Linked DNA regions of Homo sapiens: all the other regions are linked to region 1. The links are contacts of gene promoters, found by promoter capture Hi-C in blood cells and fetal thymus (Javierre and others, 2016). All regions are on one chromosome and are shown on one strand. Each heading gives the region's core, a stretch centred on a gene start or on the middle of the fragment in contact. The rest is flanking DNA. Distances are from core to core; before and after follow the strand shown.

Region 1 (4,602 bases), core at 748-3,247:
TCTAGGGGATACAGAGAATAAGACCAGTTGAGGCCTTTTATATGTGGTTTGCCTAAAGGAAAGTTCAGGAAAGCCTCCCCTGAGAGGAGATCCTGTTGCCTCTCACTAGTCCTCCGTAGATCCACCAGGCCTGTTGACTCCCTTTATCCTTGGGGGTGAAGGGGGGTGGGGATCCCTCCTTCCTGGCCTATCCTCACCTCTGTAAGAGCGTGCAGCTGTCCCTGGTGCACACAGACTCCCATGAACCTGCAAGAGGATGGGGAAGATAGAAGGATAGGCTATTAAAGGCCTCAGCTCCTCCTCAGTTCCACTTTTCCCGCGGGATCTTTCCCTTTCTCTCCCGCCCAGCAAGCTGCCCAGAGACTGGGGCCGCTCACCTTAGGATGTTGGGGTGCCTGAGCCGGTTCATCAGCTGCACTTCCCGTAGTGTGTTGCCCCGGTTACTGGGGAGCTTGTTCATCTTCAGCACCATGACTTGCCCTGACTGTCGGTGCCGAACCTGGGGGCAGGAGCAGCCGGCGAGGGCCGGGCAGGTCGGGCGGGTCGCCGGAGTCTGGACCCTCTTCCCCGCACTCCCGGCCCCCTAGTTTCAGCCTCTGGTTGAAGGCTCGGTCCCGCCCCTCTGCCCTCTCGGCCGGTCCTACCTTGTAGACCTCAGAGAAGAAGCCGGCCCCGATCTTCTCCGCGCAGTGAAAATCGTCCACACGCGCCAGGCTAGACACGGCGCTGCGGAGAGCCCGGTAGGAGGAGGGGCGGCCCCGGCCCGGGCCTCCGCCCGTGCCCCCCGGCCCCGGGGGCCCCTCCCCCGGCACCTCTCCAGGCCCGGGCCCAGGGCCCCGCAGTGGGGGCCGTTCCCCGGCCATGGCCGGGCCCCCAGCCCGGGCCTGCCTCACATGGCAGGGTCCCCAGGGCCCGGGCAGGCCGCGCTTGCCATGGGCGCGGGCCCAGCCCGATCCCGGGCGCCCGGACTCCGGCTCCCGCCCTGAGAATGGAAGATCCGCCGAAGATCCTGGACCCGCCCCCGCCGCGCCGGCTGGCTGGGCCCGGGTGGACGCCGCGCCGCTCCGCTCCGCGCAGGGCCTGGGCTTGGGCCTGGACCGGGCGGTGGCGGTGACGGTGGCGGCAGCGCTCCGGGGCGCCGGCGGGCTGGCTTGCCGCGGGCGGAGGCGGGCGGGCGGGCGGGCGGCGGCTGCTCCGCTTAGCCGCCGGGGATCAGGCTCCGCGGCCTGCCGGGGGCGGGGCTGGGCCGGGCCTCCGCTTAACTCCTTCCAGCCCGGCCTCCCGGCAGCGGCCACGCCCCCTCAGGTGCGCACCCCCGCCTCCCCGCTTTCCGGCCGCGATGCCCTGGGCCGCCCGGGTCAAATAAGCTCCGGCCTGAGCTTGAATAACGGGAGGGAATTAAGGGCTGATGGTGCGCATGCGAAGCTTAGCTGCCCAGGGAGTCCCCTCTCCTCCCTGGGTTACTGTCCGTTGAGGGTCGGGCTCAGAAACCTGCCGGATTCCTGGGCTCCAGGGACCAACGGGGCAGAAAGGTAGGCCCCTCAGGCCCAGCCGCAATCAGAGGTAGCCTAGCAACCTGTCCACCTTCCTGGCCTGCGCCCCGGCCCAGCCTGCCCATTTCCCAGGTCTCTTCGACTCCGACACCTTGAACCTCTGGCCTCCCTAACACCTTCTACCTTCACGGGAGGTTGTGATACCCCGGGGCTATAGGAAGCCTTTGGCCGGCCCATACCCAGCTTAGCCCCGACTCCTCCTCACTTCATCCTGCCGCCTCCCAATAAAGAAGAGAGTCCAGGTCCTCCGCCCTGTGACCACCCAGCCGGGACCTCCCTCTTACTACTTTGCCCAAAAGACTCTAAGAGAGAAGCCTCCACCTGCAGGGAAGCCCGTCCTTCCGCAAGATCCCACCCCCCTCAAAGAACGCTGTCCCTCGGAGACCCCTCCCTTCCTCAGTGAGACACCTCCCTTTCGGGGGCACTTTTCCCCAGTGTGGCACTGCCACCGTCAGTGTGTCAGAACCCCTCAGTGCTGCACCCCCTTGCTCTGTGTTCCTCCCACGCAGTGAGACCCCACCTCCGAGGAAATCCACTAGTCATTGTGACCCCTCCTCTCAAGGTGACTCCTCCCCTCAGTGTGACCCAGCCCTCCTCAGTGTGAGGGTTCCGCCCTCCACGTAGGAACACGGTCTGCCCCCTAAGGCCGGAGGAGGGGCTGCAACTGGCCTCTTTAAGTCGGCGCGGTGCCTGGGTGCGCACGCAGTCTCAGGACTCCGTGCACTCGCCGTACCAGACGCTTCCGGTTCTGCCGCTGGTTCCTCCTCCGGCCTCGGCGAAATAGCCAATCATCGCTAGGGTTGGGTGGTGACACGCGATCCCGGCGGTCCACTCCGGGGCAAACGGTTTAAAAGGGCGTCGTTGAGCCGCCTGCCACCTAGCGGCGGAACGGTGGGCGGAGGGAGAGAAAGCTGCCGTCTCGAGTGCGGAGGCAGGCTGAGAGCTCCTCGAGGAAGCGAGGCTGAGTCCTGCAGGAATTCTCAAGTACTGTATTGATATTTCTGTAGTAAGCTTAAAAGAGAATTAATACAAGCACAGTCCGTATCGCGTGGGGTTACCGTCTTCCAATGGAGTCTGGTTACACGTTTATGAGACTTGGAGCCAAGAAATACTACTCGCTTGTCGAGGGCTACTGAGAAAAGAATAAAGACGGTCATAAATGATACATGATGCCTTAGAGTCAAGAGAAGGCCAGATGCTGTCTTGGTGCGCTGTACAAGGGAAGGTATTGCACAAGTTTGGAGCGAGAGGAATGGGAGACATTCGCAATCCTTCCACAGCCGGTGGAGGCAGGCCAACCTCACAGAATTGCACGGGGCACGTGCATCCTGTTCTTTTTTCTGGAGGCGTTTGGTCTTCAGCACACGCTCATTCATCACATTAATGTTAACATCTACAACTAATTTGTGAATTTGCTTTTTATTGTATGACATCTGTAAACACTAGGAATTTATGCCTCATTTTGTTTAATATCATAGATCTTTTAACCGACACTGGGTTCTGGCCCTTTATCACGTTTGAGAATTACTGTAGTAGTTGGTGATGGTAATGCCAAGCCAAAGAGCCAGGTGCCTATTTTTTGTAAGATGATTGCGGTGGTTGTATGGAGGCCGGGAGACTGATTAGGAAGGAGGCTGTGACTGTGGTTCAATCAGGAAAGGATGAGACCAGCCTGGCCAACGTAGTGAAACCCCGTCTCTACTAAAAATACAAAAAAATTAGCCTGATGTGGCGAGCGCCTGTAATTCCAGCTACTCTGGAATCTGAGGCAGGTGAATCGCTTGAACCCGGGAGGCGGAGGTTGCAGTGAGCCAAGATCGCGCCATTACACTCCTGTCTAGGCGACAAGAGCGGGACTCTGTCTCAAAAAAACCTTTTGTTGTTGTTTGTATGGTGGAAAATGTCTTAACACACACACACAGAATAGAAAAATGAATGTTTATTTACCTTGGATTAGTAAGACCATTTTGTTGGAAACCCATAGTGCAAAATTGGCTTTCCTTTGCCTCAGTTGTACTGTTGCCATATTTGACCTGGCCCAGGTGAAAGTACCTACTTTCATTTACCCTTCTATGTCAGTGATTCTCCAATGAGCAATTCATGGCCAATCTTGTTTCATCTATACCCGTGCCCTCTTCCCCACTCCATATTTGTGTATATTTCTGACATATCATTTCATCCTGTAAATGTTTCAGTACGTTATCTCTAAATGATAAGGATTCTTCTTTAAAACCAAATCACAGTATTGTCACACCAAAAAAAAACAATAGTTCCTTCATGTCATCAAGCATCCAGTTGTTTACATTTCCCTCACTGTCTTACGTTTGATTTTTAAAAATTGTTTATTTGAATCAAAATCTAAATTAGGTCTGTACTTTGCAGGTGATATGTCTGTCTGTCTGTCTCTCTTTTTGTGAGACAGGGTCTGGCTCTATCACCCAGGATGGAGTGCAGTGGGTTGATCTCGGCTCACAGCAACCTCCACCCCCGAGGCTCAAGCAATCCTGCCTCAGCCTTCTGAGTGGCTGGGACTACTGAGGTGTGGGTACCACCACACCTGTCTAATTTTTGTATTTTTGTAGAGATGGGGTTTGCCACGTTGCCCAGGCTGGTCTCAACTCCTGGGCTCAAGCATTCCATTCGCCTTGGCCTCCCAAAGTGCTGGGATTATAGGTGTGAGCCACCACACCCAGCCATATGTTTCTTAAGTCTTTGCAGATCTATGCTTATTCTCCATCTTTTTTCTTACTATTTTTTAAAACTGGTTCATTTGTCCTGTAGAGTTTCTTAGAGTCTTGATTTCTGTGGTAATTTAGCATGTTCCTCCATCCTCTGTATTTGATATAAATTGGTAACTTAATCAAATTTAGATTTCTTTTGGCAAAACTAATTTGTAGATGGTTTTAGCACTTCTATCAGGAGGTATACAGGAGGTATACAGTGGTGGTCTTTTTGTGATTTTAATAACTGATATTTGTTTCTCAACCGTGGCACTATTGACATTTTGGGCTGGAAAATTCTTTATTGTAGGGGCTGTCCTGTGTATTGT
Region 2 (3,063 bases), core at 236-2,735, 950 kb after region 1:
CTGTGTTTTCACACAGCCAGACACAGTCACATTCACACACAGACTCAAGAGGCACAGTTAACAAAAGGGCATGCCTTTGAACACACGTGGACACAATCAAATGAAAAATCAGATACAAACTCCCCCTCTTTTCACTCCTCACCAAATGTTTCCTTAGGGTACAGCTGGCTGTGCTTCCAGGGGAAGGGAGGCCCCAGGTTGGGGGATATAAGGAGAGGCCAAAGAGTCCAGTTCCCCCTCCCCTGGAAGTTCCAGCCATTTCTCACCTCCCCCTCCATTCTTTGGGCCCCAGCACCAGGAAATGCCTTTGGTCCCTTGGTGCCAGATACACAAGACCCACAGTTACCCTCAGACTCATACACTCTCACATGCGGTCACTCACAGTCACACGGGCACAGCCACACCGCCTCAGACTCAGACACACTTACACATATTCATACACTCACGCAGTCACACACGCACACAGCCCCTACCAGGGCTCACAGCACCGCCTAAAAGCAACTCTTCATCATGGTCTAAGCCCCCTCTCTCAGGGAGCTCTTAGCCGGGGCAGACCCGCATCTCATCACTGTTACAGGCCCCCAACTAGCCAGAGATCAAGATCAGCAGGGAAGGCAGGCATAGGGGCACAGAGAGAGACAGAGAGAAAGGAAAGGCAAAACTGGAAATGCACCCACACAGAGAGACCAGGGGAACAAAGCTGTGAAGAAACACACAGAGGTATCTCTAGTAAGACAGCAATAGGGACAGAAAACGGCACGTAAGGGAAACTGAGCCAAGCAGGGAAACAGAAAATAAGGAGCAGTAGACCTGATGCTGGGGATTCTTGAGCAGAGGAAGGAGGGGAAGCCACGTGTGTTGTGGGTGTGTCTGTCAATGCTGGACACTTAAGAGAAAGGTCAGTCCCATGGGCTCTTGAGGTAGGTCCCCCAATACATGAATACAGCTGTACTCCCACACGGTTTAAGTTAGGACCCAGGACACACACATAGTCACAAACCTCACTTTTGCTCTGCTACTGCTGAAGTCACACATTGGCACACACAAAGCCAGCCACCCACTCTCACGCTGGCAGACATGGTCTCAAACCCCACAGAGACCTTCCCAAAACACATTCCCTCATGTGGTCACAGTCCCTCTCACACAAACACACAACCCAGTCCCACCAAAAATGTGCATTGACAGATACACACATAATCCCACACTTGCACAGCCACATGCACCTCCAGCTCCATGCACACTGACACACGCAGTCACATTAGCTGACAGCTGCACCAAGTGACACTCAGAATCGCACACAATGATACTGTCACACAGACACAGCCTCACAGGCACATACACACTGACAGTCGTTAGTCACTCCCGGCCTTTCAGATCATACATCACCCTGCCCCGCCCACTCCTGACAAGACTTTGGCGTCTACACCAGGCCTCACCTTCCGCGGCCGCTGCCGCCAGCGCCCTCTGCCCTCGCCCTCGCCCTCTGCCCCGGCCTCTACTCCCTCCCGCCCTGGGCCCCCGCAGCGGGGGTGGCTCCGCCCAGGCGCCAATGGAAGGAGAGGAGTGAAATAGGGGGGCTCCTGGCCCATTGGAGACTCCAACTGCCAATCACCTCCACCCCCACCTCCGCCGGACACTTCCTGTCCCGTCCCGGACTGAAGAGGCTGCTTGGGACAGAGTCTGGAGCTGGATTCCTGGGTCTCCGCCTGAAGGCCTATCCACCCTGGAACAGCAGGACTGGAAACAAGAGCCACTGGCCAGGTGATTGGAGAAGCTGAAGGTGCCCCTGACTCCAGATAAGATAAAGAAGAAGGAGGGCTGTGTAGGGCAGTGGTTCTCAAACTTTGCTGGATATTGTGGTTTGAAAACTGCAAAACCCCACCCCATACCAATTAAATCAGAGTCTCTGGAGGTTGGACCTAGGCACCAGTATTGTTTAAAACTTCCCAGATGATTCCAAAATGCAGCCAAATCAGAGGTGTAAGGTGTGTCGGGTATATGTATGCCTCAAGAAACCAGCCACCCACTCAGGGTTCTCATCTACTCCCCAGTCATGGGAAGCTCGAGGGAAATGTGTGCATACTATGTCTATCAGATCTTCCAGACCAGGGCAACACTCCCAAGTTCCAGGTACTTCCCCTCCAGGATCTCAGGGAAGAAAAACCCTGGTCTGGAAGGCAGGCAGCCAAGTTTCTCCTGGGCCAGATTCAGTCACTGTCCAGCCTTAGTGTGATTTCCCCACCCACAGGCTTGGTTCCCCTGGGGAAAGAACGAAGGCAAAAACCATTCTGGCCATCCCTGCATCATTCACAATGCCTGCCTTCGCCTTAAAATTTGGAGGACACCAGTGGCATCAGGTCTCCTGTGTTGCATAGACTGTTGTTCCCACAGCGTTGCCAGGGAAACAGGTCCAGAGGGGACTGAATAGACCCCAGGTCACTCTGAGAGCCATACCTTCCTTCCAGGCCCTAGGGTTCCTAACTCTAGCAGTCCCTTCTCTGTCAGAGCTGTTTCTGTTTGTGCAATGATTGGGGCACAAGGGCAGCAGAAGTATATGGTGCCCGCACATGTGAGAGTCTGGAGGAGCCAAGGACACAAAGCCACGTACACGCTCCCTACACACTCCCTACCCGCCCCTTTAGCCCCTGTGGGCTGGAGCAGAGCCAAGCTGCAGCCACTCACAAAGCCAGGGTTCTGGCCAGCAGCCCAGGATCTGGCCACTGACCACTGGGATCAGGATCCAGCTCACCCGCTCCCCATCAAACCCTCAGGCCCAGGCTTGGAGCTGACACCCTAGGGGTGGTGGCAAAGGGGGCTCTGGCCTTCCCAAAGCCTCAGCCACAACCAAGACACAAGATTTTAAAACAGTTTCCTAAACTGGGAATGCTGTCATTACACCAAGAGTAAGAGAATCTATAGGCTAGATATAATACTGAATATTAATTTTGTTCAGAAATTTGGGGTAGATTTTTGCATCAAGATTTTACACATCTGTAGACAAAGAAAAGTTGTAGCTGGAGCTATGCCTTTAGCTTTTAACCCTAGATCTCTGAAGGTTCACAC
Region 3 (4,602 bases), core at 1,341-3,840, 590 kb before region 1:
TAATGTAATCCTAAAGATGCCACATAGCATTATAAATTATATTATGCAACTTTTACAAAGGAGAAAACTGAGGCCGGGCAGTGGTGGTAGTTATATACATTGTCTGAGATCACAAAGCTAAACTCACACTCAAGCAGTTTAGGATAGCATAGAATCTTAACCACTAGAGCATATCTTTAAAAAAAAAAAAAAAGAAGGAAAAAGAAAACTAAGAGAGAAAAAGTGTCCAATCAGTTCTCTAAACTCCAAAGGAAATGCTGACCACTGCATATTACCAACTTCAATTACACTGTCAGGAATCTGGCTTTAAGTCACCAAATGCTTAGTTCACTAAGAAAGTCCCTCCTAGGAACTAAGTCAGCAACCATTTCTTTCCTTCCCTTTGCCGAAGGCTTGATGCACAAAGGACCGAGCATCCAACTCTATTCTCTCCCTTTTACCTTCCCTAACTGCCCGTCACCAAGATCTGTCAGTTCTACATAGGACCCTTGGATCTGACATTTTTGCCCATTTCTTTGTCAAACGTGAGCATCTACTACATGTCAGACACACTGCTAGGCAGTGGAGATAAAACAGTAAGGGTAACACTGTCCTTGAATCAGGACAATCTTCCAACTACAGATCTTGGGTTCTGCTTCTCCCAAATCTGTTCCACCTGGGACAGCCACAGCTGCCTGTCTGTTATCGCACTACACCCCTGCTAAAACAACTAAACACTGCAACAGAATGTGGTATATTCTAAGAGTGGGTAGACTTGGGGCTCAGCTATTAACTCGTGCTTTTTTAAGCAAGTCGTTTCTCTCTAGGATTGCTTCTCTTCTATTAAATGAGGAAGGTTAAACTAAGGGTCTAAGAAGTCAATTTTAAAATTCTCAGACAAATGTTAGAGACCACCCAATGAAAATATCCCCTAATCACTTAAGGCCAACTTCATCTCACAATCACAGCCTAGTTTAGTCCAACCTACCCGCTATAAAGTTGCATATTCGGGCATATTACATGTTCCCACTAAGTTCTTATTGGGGGACTGATTTGTTTAGGAAGCAACATGGTGCAGTCAAAAACTCAAGAGGCTGCAAACTAGCAGCACACCCACCAACCCATCCATCAAAAGGTTCCGCCTGGCTGGCACAGTAACTTGAGACTGCTGGATCTGAATGCCTTTACACAGAGCACTACTATAGTGCAGCAAAGCCTCAGTCTCCAACACTTCTACTGTCTCATGTCAAGCCAGCTTCTCTCGTATATGTTACCTACCTGGCTCCTTAAGGTTTGAATTTAGGGTAGACACTACTCCTATATGCCCCAGTAGTGCCCTATTCTCCCTTAGTTGGAATTTTTTAAGTGAATGAAAAGCCGTATTTCATTTCTTCTAGCTAAATTTCCTACTTCTTTGTATTATTAAGTAGGTCTTTTCCACTCATGATCCTAAGCATCACACACAGGTTAAGGCATCCAAAGGTCAAACTGCCATCCTACCTGCCCCATTTTTACTTGAGTTTGGCTGAGAACATTCTCTATTCACCTCTTCATCCCTCCCTGATTGGTTTAGGCTAATCTTGGGTTCTGCTTAGGCAATATTGCCTACCAAAGCTGTTCCCAGAGGAAGAGCTCCAGAAGTCCTAGCTGTAAATCAATCGCTCAACGATAGCAAACTCCTACCGCGCTTGGCAGTTCTTTCTCCAGACCTAGATCATCTTTCGAGTTCCCTACTCCCTCCTTCCTCCTCGTAATCCAACACTCTGTACACCTTAAGTGCTTAAATGCTGAACTGCATTGCTACTTTTGTTTGTATCTCTCAAAAACGATATTTCCATTCTTATTTTTTTCCGCCCTCCTTTTCTAATAACGAGTTCTGTGCTCGGCTCAGACTTATAAGCTTATAAGTCTGGAAAAACTGCGCCAATGCGGTTGCTTCAGAGACCGGACTAAAGGCACAGCAAATGCTTAATGAAAAGTTGCTGAATTGAACGGGCTTCTTCCGGCTCCGGAGCCTGCCACCCTACACTTGCTTTCTCGCTCCGCCCGCGCCCAGAAGCACTCAAACATGCTGAGAACCGAACAGGCTTCTCGAGCCTAGGTTTCTGAAAGACCGGGCCAGGGTCTCGTTTCCTGTTTGCACTGCTCCCTAACCTCCTAATTCAGCAAGGAGCACGAGTCACACAGAAGCTCTCGGACCCACTGTGGACCGAGTTTCCAGACAAGTCCTCTCGCCCCAAACGCGCCCGCACTCTCACCCGGACCCCCCGGCGGCTCGCCGTGCGGCTGGGGCCCGGGGGCGCCGCCGTCCAGGATGGCGAAGGCCTCGTCGTTCTCGATGCCCGCAATCTCGCTCTCTTGCTGCGCCAAGAAGGCCGCAGCCGGGTCTTCTTCGCCGGCGCCGGCCACTCCGTTCCCCAGCGCGGGACCGCCAGGGGCGCCGGCAGGGGCGCCGAACGGATCCAGCTCAGCCATGGCGGGCAACTGAACGGCACGGACACCAACGGTGAGACAAAAACCAACCGACCCACCGACACCACGCCCGGCAGCCACCGCTGTGGTGCCGACTGGGAGAGGAGGACAAGCGCCAGGAGGGAGACGGGTAAAGCGGAAGCCCTACCCGTGTATCCGGTCGGTCTAGGCGGTGTTGCAGAGCCGAAAAGGGAACAACCAATCAGAGGACAACAATGGTTCAGGAGCTACCCAATCAGCAAGTGGAGGGGCGGTCCCCCTAAAACAACTCGTGACTGGGGTAGGGCGGGAGGTGAGGGAGGTGAGCTGCGCGGGCCCCGGGAGGCGGAAGTGCTGCCTGATAGGGAGCGTCCTACCCACCCCGTCTGCTGGAGCTGGACTGACCAGGGACGGCCACCCCTGAGGGGACTCTAGTGCTGCACTGGGAGGTGAGGTGAAGTTAGGGCAGCGACGATTGGCCGATTACTGAAGAGGCATGCCACTTAGGCTTTCTGAACCTCAGTTTCCTCATTCGTAAAATAGAAACAAGAATCCTGCTCTTGCGCCCCCTCCCGGGATTATTAGAAGATTGAATCCTAAAAAAAAAGAAGAAGAAGATTGAATCCTTTTATGGATTTGAGGGTCCCTGGCTTTATAAATTTAAAATATTTAATTCTTTCAGCCAGCCTGGATTATTTGCTCCCTTAGAGCCCATAGATTTACTGTAATTGATTCAGTCCACTCCGATTTTTCTCGCCCATAAGTATTTTTATTTAAAAATGAATATATCTTATCTTCTTCAACGAAGCACTTTTGCAGCCATTACGTCTTTTCGGAGCTAGACAGAAGTTACTAAACCTGGAAAATTCCTTAAGGATCACTTGCTTCAAAGGGAGACACGGTGGCCCTGCTGTTCAAGGAGCGTCAGTGACCCAGAGAGTCAGTGACCAAGAGGAAACGCCTGTCTCCTGGGGACTTCCAAGATACTAGCTACAGTCTCTTATATTTACACCTTTCCTCCCTAAGGACAGCAGGAAAAAGAAAGTTCCGTGTTTCTTTTTAAATCAGGGAGATGTTAATAGCTACATGGCTCATTTTGTCTACACCACAGAAATAACAGTGGTTCCAGTTAATCATGCTCATGTTGAGGGGGAGTGCTTATGCAGGGGCCACCAGAAGACCCCTCTCCTTCACTACCACCACCACCACCCTAAGAAATGAAAAGCCAAAAAAAGAAACCAAAAAACCAGAGGTCAACAAGAAGCTTCCAGAGGTAGTCAGCAGGGGACAAGAAAGTGTTTTTATAAAAAACGCACATATCTTTGATGACAAAAAAAAAGGGATAGCTATGAAGGAAAAATGAAGCAAATAAAAATTATTTAAAGCATATATTTACTTAAAGCATAATTTTAAAGTCATTTAAAGTATGAACCATAGGAAAGTGTTGAAGAAAAACATTTAAGAAAGTTAAAATGTTAGGGTCTGCAATTGATTCTGTTTCCCCTTGTCTGTTGTTTTATGCTCATCCCTAACATACATTGGCAACAGTGCATGAAGTATTTTCACATTAGCCTTGACATAGTCTCATGAGGAAAAGAGGGGCAGGGACTACTATGAGAGAGCCCAAGGAAGACAACTTTTAGTTGCTCACAACAGTAGTAGCTCCGGAACAGACAGCATTCTTTTTGGGGAAATGCATGACTTTGGGAGAAACTCTCCTGTGATTCCCTTGCTAGAGGAGGCATTACATATTATGCAAAAGCAACAAACAAGTATACACTCAAAATTGGAGGAATAGCTGATGTGTTTACGGATGATTTCACAGAGGTGGCTTGGAGCTCAGTTTTGAAATATGGGGAACGTTTAGAAGAGTCAATAATGAGGGTCTAATGTTAGTGTCATGTAAAAGTTCAGAGGTGGGAAAATGTTTGGCATGTTTTGGGGACAGTGAGTAAATTAGTTGGAGTCTGAAGAGCTCAGCAAGATGAATAATTGAAGGAAAATCTGGGGACAGATTCTGGAGCCCTGAAAGCATTCCATGTTAAGGAATCTTAATGGCAATAAGGAACCATAGAAGGTTTCAGATAAAGGAATGTTTTGATCAACTGCTGCTTAGGAGGTTAATCGGGTCCCTGGTTGCAGGATGGATGGGGCAGAGGCTGTGGGCAGAGA

The links. The method cuts DNA at HindIII sites, captures the fragments that hold promoters and counts their contacts. A CHiCAGO score of 5 or more calls a contact.
Region 2: a contact is called between the fragment with the promoter of IL11RA here and a fragment that was not itself captured in region 1, in 1 of 17 cell types (erythroblasts). The highest score is 5.1, in erythroblasts.
Region 3: a contact is called between the fragment with the promoter of CLTA here and a fragment that was not itself captured in region 1, in 1 of 17 cell types (fetal thymus). The highest score is 6.2, in fetal thymus.

Annotation. Positions count from the first base shown.
Region 1 is chr9:35,601,881-35,606,482 of GRCh38, reverse strand. TESK1 (testis associated actin remodelling kinase 1) reads right to left here and starts at 1,221. Exons shown (of 10, transcript NM_006285.3): 1 at 645-1,221; 2 at 378-499; 3 at 198-246. The coding sequence starts at 863. RefSeq lists silencers at 356-615, 397-691, 626-795, 816-1,115, 1,146-1,395 and an enhancer at 1,876-1,985. The HindIII fragment of the contact is 1,139 bases long and covers 1,428-2,566 here.
Region 2 is chr9:34,650,607-34,653,669 of GRCh38, reverse strand. IL11RA (interleukin 11 receptor subunit alpha) reads right to left here and starts at 1,485. Exons shown (of 13, transcript NM_001142784.3): 1 at 1,437-1,485. It overlaps GALT (galactose-1-phosphate uridylyltransferase), which reads right to left. Exons shown (of 11, transcript NM_000155.4): 11 at 2,635-3,063. RefSeq lists a silencer at 1,430-1,529. The HindIII fragment of the contact is 12,105 bases long and covers 1-3,063 here.
Region 3 is chr9:36,188,909-36,193,510 of GRCh38, reverse strand. CLTA (clathrin light chain A) reads right to left here and starts at 2,590. Exons shown (of 5, transcript NM_001833.4): 1 at 2,238-2,590. The coding sequence starts at 2,454. RefSeq lists enhancers at 2,395-2,614, 2,330-2,955. The HindIII fragment of the contact is 1,815 bases long and covers 1,882-3,696 here.